Linked DNA regions of Homo sapiens: region 1 is linked to region 2. Evidence: promoter capture Hi-C in 16 types of primary human blood cells and fetal thymus (Javierre and others, 2016). All regions are on one chromosome and are shown on one strand. Each heading gives the region's core, a stretch centred on a gene start or on the middle of the fragment in contact. The rest is flanking DNA. Distances are from core to core; before and after follow the strand shown. Region 1 overlaps CAMK1D (calcium/calmodulin dependent protein kinase ID). Region 2 holds the start of NUDT5 (nudix hydrolase 5).

Region 1 (3,681 bases), core at 554-3,053, 460 kb before region 2:
CGAGTAGCTGGAACTACAGGCATGCGCCACCACACTCAGCTAATTTTTGTATTTTTAGTAGAGACGGGGTTTCACCATGTTGGCCAGGATGGTCTCGATCTCTTGACCTCGTGATCAGCCTGCCTCGGCCTCCCAAAGTGCTGGGATTACAGGCATGAGCCACCGTGCCTGGCCAGAAAGGTGCTTTTAAAAAGTTCTTGATGAAAATCATTAACCAAGTTCACCAAGTTTACCAAAATATATCCATAAAAGTGCACACAAAAAGAAATGCATACTGATTAGTGGAATTGCACAAGCAATCAAGAGATTAGCTTGCGTCTTAGCTCTGATACATCTAACTGCAAGACTTTGAACAAGTCGTTAAATACTTTCTGATTTGATTTCTCATTTGTTAAATGAACATCAAAATATGTCATCTTGTTATTTATCTATCCACGTGTATATATATGTGTTTATGTAAAAAAAATGTATATACACACACACATGTAACATATTACTGTATAGTTAGAGATCTTGTGTTGTAGACCATAGGCCACTTCAAGAAATGAGCAGAATTCAAAATCCTAAGCTTCAAATCACCTCTCTTTGCTGCCAGAAGATGGAGCTATACTCAATGGGCAACTAAGGAGCCAAGACTATGATACCTAAATCAACTAAGCTCTTAAGTCTGTAAGCTAGTTTTGTTGTTGTTTTTTAAAGATTAAGTACTACATGTTGATACTGATTGTGAAATGAGTTTTTCCTTGAATCCTTATAAACAAACAAACAAATGACAATAAAAACCCTTGTGCACAAATGGCGGTTTTTTTCTTTTCTCTTTTTTTTGAAACAGGGTCTCTCACTCCGTCACCCAGGCTGGAGCGCAGTGGTGTGGTTTCGGTTCACTGCAACCTCTGCCTCCCAGGCTCAAGTGATCCTCCCACCTCAGTCTCCCAAGTAGCTAGGACCACAGGCATGTGCCACCACACCCAGCTAATTTTGGCATATTTTTGTAGAGATGGGATTTCACCATGTTACCCAGGCTGGTCCTGAAGGTATTTTCTTAATAGCACCCCAGGCCTCCTTAGTACAATGCAGGGTACCCACTGTGGGGGCATAGCTAGCACTCATATGTGTAGGGATGCAGTGCTAGAGCCTGTAATGGTCCCACAGGAGGGGCATCAACGAGCTGGTTCTGTCTCTGACACTATGACCACATTCTGGTCACATCCCCTTCCTGGGTCTCGGTTTCCTTGTCTAGAAATCAACCAGCCAGACCAGAAAGTCCCCAAGGTCTCTTCCAACTCTAACAATCAATGAATCTAAACTTATAATGAGGCAAAGTGCATTAAGGTATCTATGAGAACCATCAACTTTGACTCTAAGTCCATATTCAGTGTTCTCTGGAATAGTCTTTGCTACACAGAAGCCTGGTGACAACTTGTGCATCAATAGGTTCTTTATCTGCACAGACAAGTTTGTCAGCTGGACACAGAACAGAATTTTCTTGAGACATGAAGTTGTTTACACAGAAAAGACCCACTTTTCCTTCTCCCACATCAGCATCCACAATGCCTGGACTAATACAGAAACGCCCAAGTGATTTGCTCTTGTCTAGAATGGCTCTAGAGGTCCAGCTGAGGCCTGGCGGTCTTTCGACCAAAGGAGAAATAAGTTAGGTCCAGTTCAGTGTGAAAAATCCAGTGTGAAAAATCCAGCACATATCAACACTCAAGGAATGTTTATGGAAGAATGAATGAATGAATGAACAATTAATTCTCACCTTCCAAAAGTCTTACAGACTCCAGACATTCCAAAGCTACACACCAGAATGAAAAAAGGTTCTAAGATTTGACTGTGTATTTCTTTCCTATTTCTGTTACCATCCATGAGAAGTTACCAGTGAATGGGTGATACAGTTTGGATAGTTTTTCTTGCCCAAATCTCATCTTGAATTTCAATCCTCAATGCTTGAACATGGGGTCTAGAGGGCAGTGTTCAAGTCATGGGGGTGGATCCCTCATGGCTTGGTGCTGTCTTTGCGACAGTGGCTTCTTGTGTGGCACCTCCCCCTCCCACTCTCTCTCGATCCTGCTTTCACCATGTGACATGCCTGCTCCCCCTTTGCCTTCCATCATGAGTGTAAGTTTCCTGAGGTCTCCCTAAAAGCCGAGCAGATGCCAGCACTATGCTTCCTGTACAGCCTGCAGAACTGTGAGCCAATTAAACCTCTTTTCCTATAAATTACCCAGGCTCAGGTATTTCTGTATAGCAATGCAGGAACGGCCTAATCCAATGGGTCTCAAGCTCAGATACGTGCTAGAATTATCTGAGGAGTTCCAAATGTACTAATAACTGGAACATTTTTGGAGATTATGATTTGATTGGCCTGCGGCGTGGCCTAGGCGTAACAAGTTCTTTATAGTTTCTCCAGTGATTCAAACGTGCAGCCAAGTTTGAGAACCACTGGTAAGTCATTTATTACTAAATTACTGAGAATCTTAGGTCATGGGAAAGGGTTCAACTTTAGATACTTCAGAGCTGATAACTTCGTGGCTTCCGTGCCCATTTTAAATTTATCTAGGCTGAATACATTTATTTGATAATAAGTCTGATTTTTAAAGGTTAAGATCCAGGGTGTCCTAAGGATAAAGATTTAAGGCTACATGGCCAACCCATTACTCCTCTCAGGATAAGAATATGAAAAAAATAACATTTCTTAGCAAGTATAATAGTATTAGCAACTAATATTTCTTAGCAAGTAGTATTAGTAATACTTCTTCTACTATTTCTTAGCAAGACTTTGAAACACTAACACATTTAAAGGAATACTGTCATTTCCTTCTTTGAATCTTTTGGTAACTTTTTGTCAAAGGGTAATATATATTTCTGTGGGCATTTTAAACATGAAAATTAGCACCAGGAGTCTCAGAAAACATTAAGGTGTTTACCCGCCTTGAAACAGAGATTAACTCTTGTAGCTTGGATTTCCTAGCTTCACTGATGTGAGAACCCACATACACCAAATCACCTTAGAAAGGGAAATCTCAGAAAGCTTGTTTCAGATTCACTGTGGATGCTTACAAGGTGAATTTAGAAGCTATTCCTGTATGAAATACTGTTAATGACACAGAACTGCTGGGGTGTATCCTGCAGCTTCCTTCACATACTCTGTGCCCCAGATTGAAGACGCTGGGCTTGAATTCAGGAAGCATCTTTGAGGTTTCTAGCTCTGAACACTTGCATTTATATGAGGATAAGTAAGTGGAAGGGAAACAAAATAATGCACTGGAATCTAGGGGAAAGGTATTGTTTCTTTTTTCTTTCCTACCACTAATGTCCTGTGCTTTCTCTGTGCTGATACCCACATGGAAGGGTCCATATTTCACAACTCAAACCCATGACCATGTCAAGCCAACAGGTGCCCTGAATAGCACCTACTGAAATTGGAGGACCCAGTGCTGCTCTTTCATTCAAACGAGATAATGAAGCATCAGGAACACAGGCCAAAATGATCCTAGGCATTGCACTAAAGCTACTGGGGTATGGCAACATTTATTTAGAAAGTGGGAAGCCAATTGTAAAAGAAAAAGATGAGATGAAAATAGTAAGATGAAAAACAGAGAGGGAAGTCTGTTTTGAACAACCATCTAATTTCAGTTCACTGTCAGACTTAGGGGGATTGAACTCATACTGTATAAT
Region 2 (3,859 bases), core at 1,226-3,725:
ACACAGGAAATGCAGCAAACCCAACTAGAAGATGACTAGCATTTGGTCACCTTCTAAAGATAGAGGGCAGAAGTAGAGTCAAGATCTGGAAACCATTCTTGGGTTGGCAGTGAGCACCTACCGCTAAGAATTCATGATACTTTTGGATGTGTCTTGCTGGCTTTCTATTCAACTGATCACCAGAGATATAAAGCTGCTTAAACTAGGCATGCTTTAGCTTAATTTGTTTCAGGTAATCATAATTAAGGATGGCAAAGCCATACCTGAAGTCTCTTAAAAACTTATGGGATAATTTGTTTTTTACCTTGAAATAATAAATTATCAAAAAGCCCTACCACAGATCCCTAAGAGTGCTGGTATTATTTTGATTTTGAGGCATATACATCTTCAAAAAGTGGAAAAGATTACAGCCTGCTTTCCCGAAGTTAACAGAACATCAATGACTTATAACATGTCTCATTTATTTATGGAAGAAGTTTTTTTTGGCACATTACAAATGGTTTTTTTGCACAAAAAAGAGTATTCATGGGCTACTTCGGTTTTAAAAATAAGTATTTTTATTTATTTTTAAATAAATAAAAGATCACTGCCACTGCACTCCAGCTTGGGCGACAGAGCAAAAACTTCGGTTTTAAAAATAAATATTTGATTTATCAAAGGTACAATTTCACATTCAAAAATCTAGTTCTGGCCGGGCGCGGTGGCTCACACCTGTAATCCCAGCACTTTGGGAGGCCGAGGCGGGCGGATCACGAGGTCAGGCAATCGAGACCATCCTGGCTAACACGGTGAAAACCCCGCCTCTACTAAAAATACAAAAAATTAGCCGGGGGTGGTGGCGGGCGCCTGTAGTCCCAGCTACTCAGGAAGCTGAGGCAGGAGAATGGCGTGAACTCGGGAAGGGAAGCTTGCAGTGAGCCAAGATCGCTGCCACTGCACTCCAGCTTGGGCGACAGAACAAAACTCTGTCTCAAAAAAAAAAAATCTAGTTCTTCAGGCTTTTAATTTCTTCTAACAAATCTTATTACGTTTGAAAATCTACTAAATTTTAAACAATTTCAAGCGAAACTTTGCAACTTAAAAGTCTCTTTAAAATTTTAAATTCTATTCATAAACCACTCAATTTTCTTTCTTAATATGTCTATTTGCTGATTACAAATAAGCCTTCCTAAGTATTTTACTCTTACAAAGCTAACAAGCGAAATTGTTAAGTACAATGAATCTAAGGTTCTACCACACATTCCAATACTATTTAAGAACTTGAAACTTTTCTTATACATTTTAACCATTCTAAGCCAGTTACACATTTTCAAGTACATATCCGATCTTTATTGAATGAAACCATCATATAATGAATCAGCAATTACTGAAATGTTGGCTCAGAAAATCAGTTAAGTGCAAAGCCCAGATTTTCTATCAACGCCTTTAAAAAAACTGAGAGATGAAATTGTATATATTAATACTTGCCGCCTACCTGATGTTTTTAAGTATATATACACTGTGGAATAAATTTAGCTAACAAATGCATTGCCTAACATAGTTATTTTTGTGGTGAGAACACTAACATCCACTCTCCGTTTTTCAAGAATACGTATATCGTCATTAACTATAGCCTCCATGCTGTACGACATATCTGTGAACTTGTTCTCGTATCTAACTGTAATTACGTATCCTTTCACCTTCCCAATCTCCATCCTCTGGGGTGATGGCGAAAAGCAATTAATTCTCCGAGTGCACTTAGGCAGTGATCACCTTGCGCCTGGGGCCATTCTAAAAGTAGTGGTGGTGAACTCCCAAGCCTAAACTAGGTTAATCCACTATTCCTCCCGCCTCCGACCCTCACTGAAAACCACAACTGACCCTCCTAGCCAGCACACTCGCTGGCTCGCAACAGGACGCAGACAATTGCTGATGTACTTCCCTCTCGACACACTCCCTCCCATGCAGTCGCTAGAAGGCCTGCATTTTTTTGGATAGCAGTAAGATTCGCTCAGAAGTCGCAGTTCCCTTTTGCCGGTCGACCGGGCGAACCCCCTCCCATCTCACCTCTTGATGGTAACGCCTCGGAAGAACGGGTACCACGCGGAGAACTGGCAGTGAAGCACATGCTCCTTCTTCATCCTCCAGCTGCCGCCGCTGCTGCCTTTCCCTCTCCTGCCTGCACCCTCCCGGAACTCTGGGCGCCGGCCCCGGAAGTGCCCGCCGAGCTATTTTGGTTCAAGGACTCTTCCGGTCCCTAAAGCAAGAAGGAAGACCGAGAAAAGGAAGCGGAGGAGAATCCCGGGGCATACGCTTGACACACACGCATACAAAAAGAGCTTTAGTCTCGAAAGAGGAATTACCGAAGTGTCGAGAGAGGAATTTTAAGAAGTTTACAACTCCGTCTTCGCCCTAAACGCACGCTGACCCGGAAAGTAATCTCCTGAAGCTAGGTCAAAGGCGGGGGTTCTACGGATGCCGGAAGGAGGGTGCGCGCCCATCCTTTTAGCACCGCGAGAGGCGCCGGTGTTTCGAGCCGTGGCACCGGCATCGGCTGACACTGCTGCCTCCAGCTAGTTATTTCGTCCTCTTCCGTTCTTCACCCCTACACCTTGGAGTAAGTAACCGGGGCAAGCCAGTCACAGCACAAAACCTCTTTGGGGAGGAGAAGAAGAAGGGGAAAGGGACCACATCTGCATGGTGCGTGCAGCCGCGCGGTGTCTCCCAGGCTGCGGCTGGGCACGCGTCCAGGCGCCCAAGAGGGAAACTGGGGATTGGAGGGAAATTGTGGATTGGAGAGGAAGAGCCTGGGCTACTCCGAGTAAAGAAAGCGGGGAACACCACAGCTAAGTGTTAGTTCCAGTGTAAAGATTGCAGCATCTGCAGAGGAGTAGAATGCTTGGTAGAGGGAATACCGCCTGTACGATCCTGGAGGGTTCGACTTTGGGAGGTAAAAGGCGAGAGGTAAATGTGAGAAAGCAGAGGAAAGAGGAGTCTCCTTGGAGCGCTGAATTCGTTTAGTCTGGCCTCGCAAAAGTTGTCAACCTGGAAAAAACGCAGATTTTTATCAGTATTCCTGCGATGATCGAATCATAAGACTGGAAGAATTCGAATCGAACTTGTACTATCGTTTTTTCCTTTGCTTCACTCCTGTCACCCAGCAAAGTTCAGTTTTGTTTGTTTCGTTAAAAGAATGAGAAGTAACTAGCTGCTTTTATTTATTTATTTGAGACGGAGTCTCACTCTGTGCCCAGATTGGAGTGCAGTGGCGCAATCTTGGCTCACTGCAACCTCCGCCTCCTGGGTTTAAGTGATTCTCCTGCCTTAGCTTCTCGAGTAGCTGAGAGCGCGCGCGCGCCACTACGCCGGCTAATTTTTGTGTTTTTAGTAGAGACGGCGTTTCACCATATTTGCCAGGCTGGTCTCGAACTCCTAACCTTAGGTGATCTGCCCGCCTCAGCCTCCCAAAGTGCTGGGTTTACAAGGCGTGAGCCACGGCCCCGGGCCTACCAACCAGCCGCTTTTAACCCCTAGTCGTGTCGCTTACCACACGAGCTTTAGGCTTGCGCGAGGCATCTGCGTCTAAAAGTATCTCCTTAAATGTACATTCTTCCTGGTTCACCTAAGTAGTTTTAAATTAGAAACAGCCCCACCGACTGCAGGCCTCTTCAGAAGGGTGTTCCTTAGAATAATAAACAATTATCTGCGTATTTTGAGTTAGAAACTCTTCCCCCCAGGAATATATACATTGTTTTGGGTTGTGTTTTGTTTTTCTCAAAAATGTTACTGGCTAAGTGGCTAGTTGGAAGCAGTGCTTTAAAGAATACATTTTCAAAGCAGAGGTAAATAGATTATAATGTTGCAGAGTATGTTGGTGGGG

Evidence for each region. Contacts are between HindIII fragments. The CHiCAGO score rates a contact against its expected background, and 5 or more counts as called.
Region 1: a contact is called between a fragment that was not itself captured here and the fragment with the promoter of NUDT5 in region 2, in 2 of 17 cell types (total B cells and naive B cells). The highest score is 7.0, in total B cells.

The regions. Positions count from the first base shown.
Region 1 is chr10:12,653,638-12,657,318 of GRCh38, reverse strand. The region is part of intron 2 of CAMK1D (calcium/calmodulin dependent protein kinase ID); the gene reads right to left. Among named protein-coding and RNA genes, the nearest start is that of MIR4481, 2.3 kb to the right of the region's middle. RefSeq lists a silencer at 435-729 and an enhancer at 1,058-1,117. The HindIII fragment of the contact is 2,466 bases long and covers 571-3,036 here.
Region 2 is chr10:12,194,507-12,198,365 of GRCh38, reverse strand. NUDT5 (nudix hydrolase 5) reads left to right here and starts at 2,475. Exons shown (of 10, transcript NM_014142.4): 1 at 2,475-2,596. It overlaps CDC123 (cell division cycle 123), which reads right to left and starts at 2,178. Exons shown (of 13, transcript NM_006023.3): 1 at 2,047-2,178. The coding sequence starts at 2,120. RefSeq lists an enhancer at 2,162-2,431. The HindIII fragment of the contact is 3,617 bases long and covers 910-3,859 here.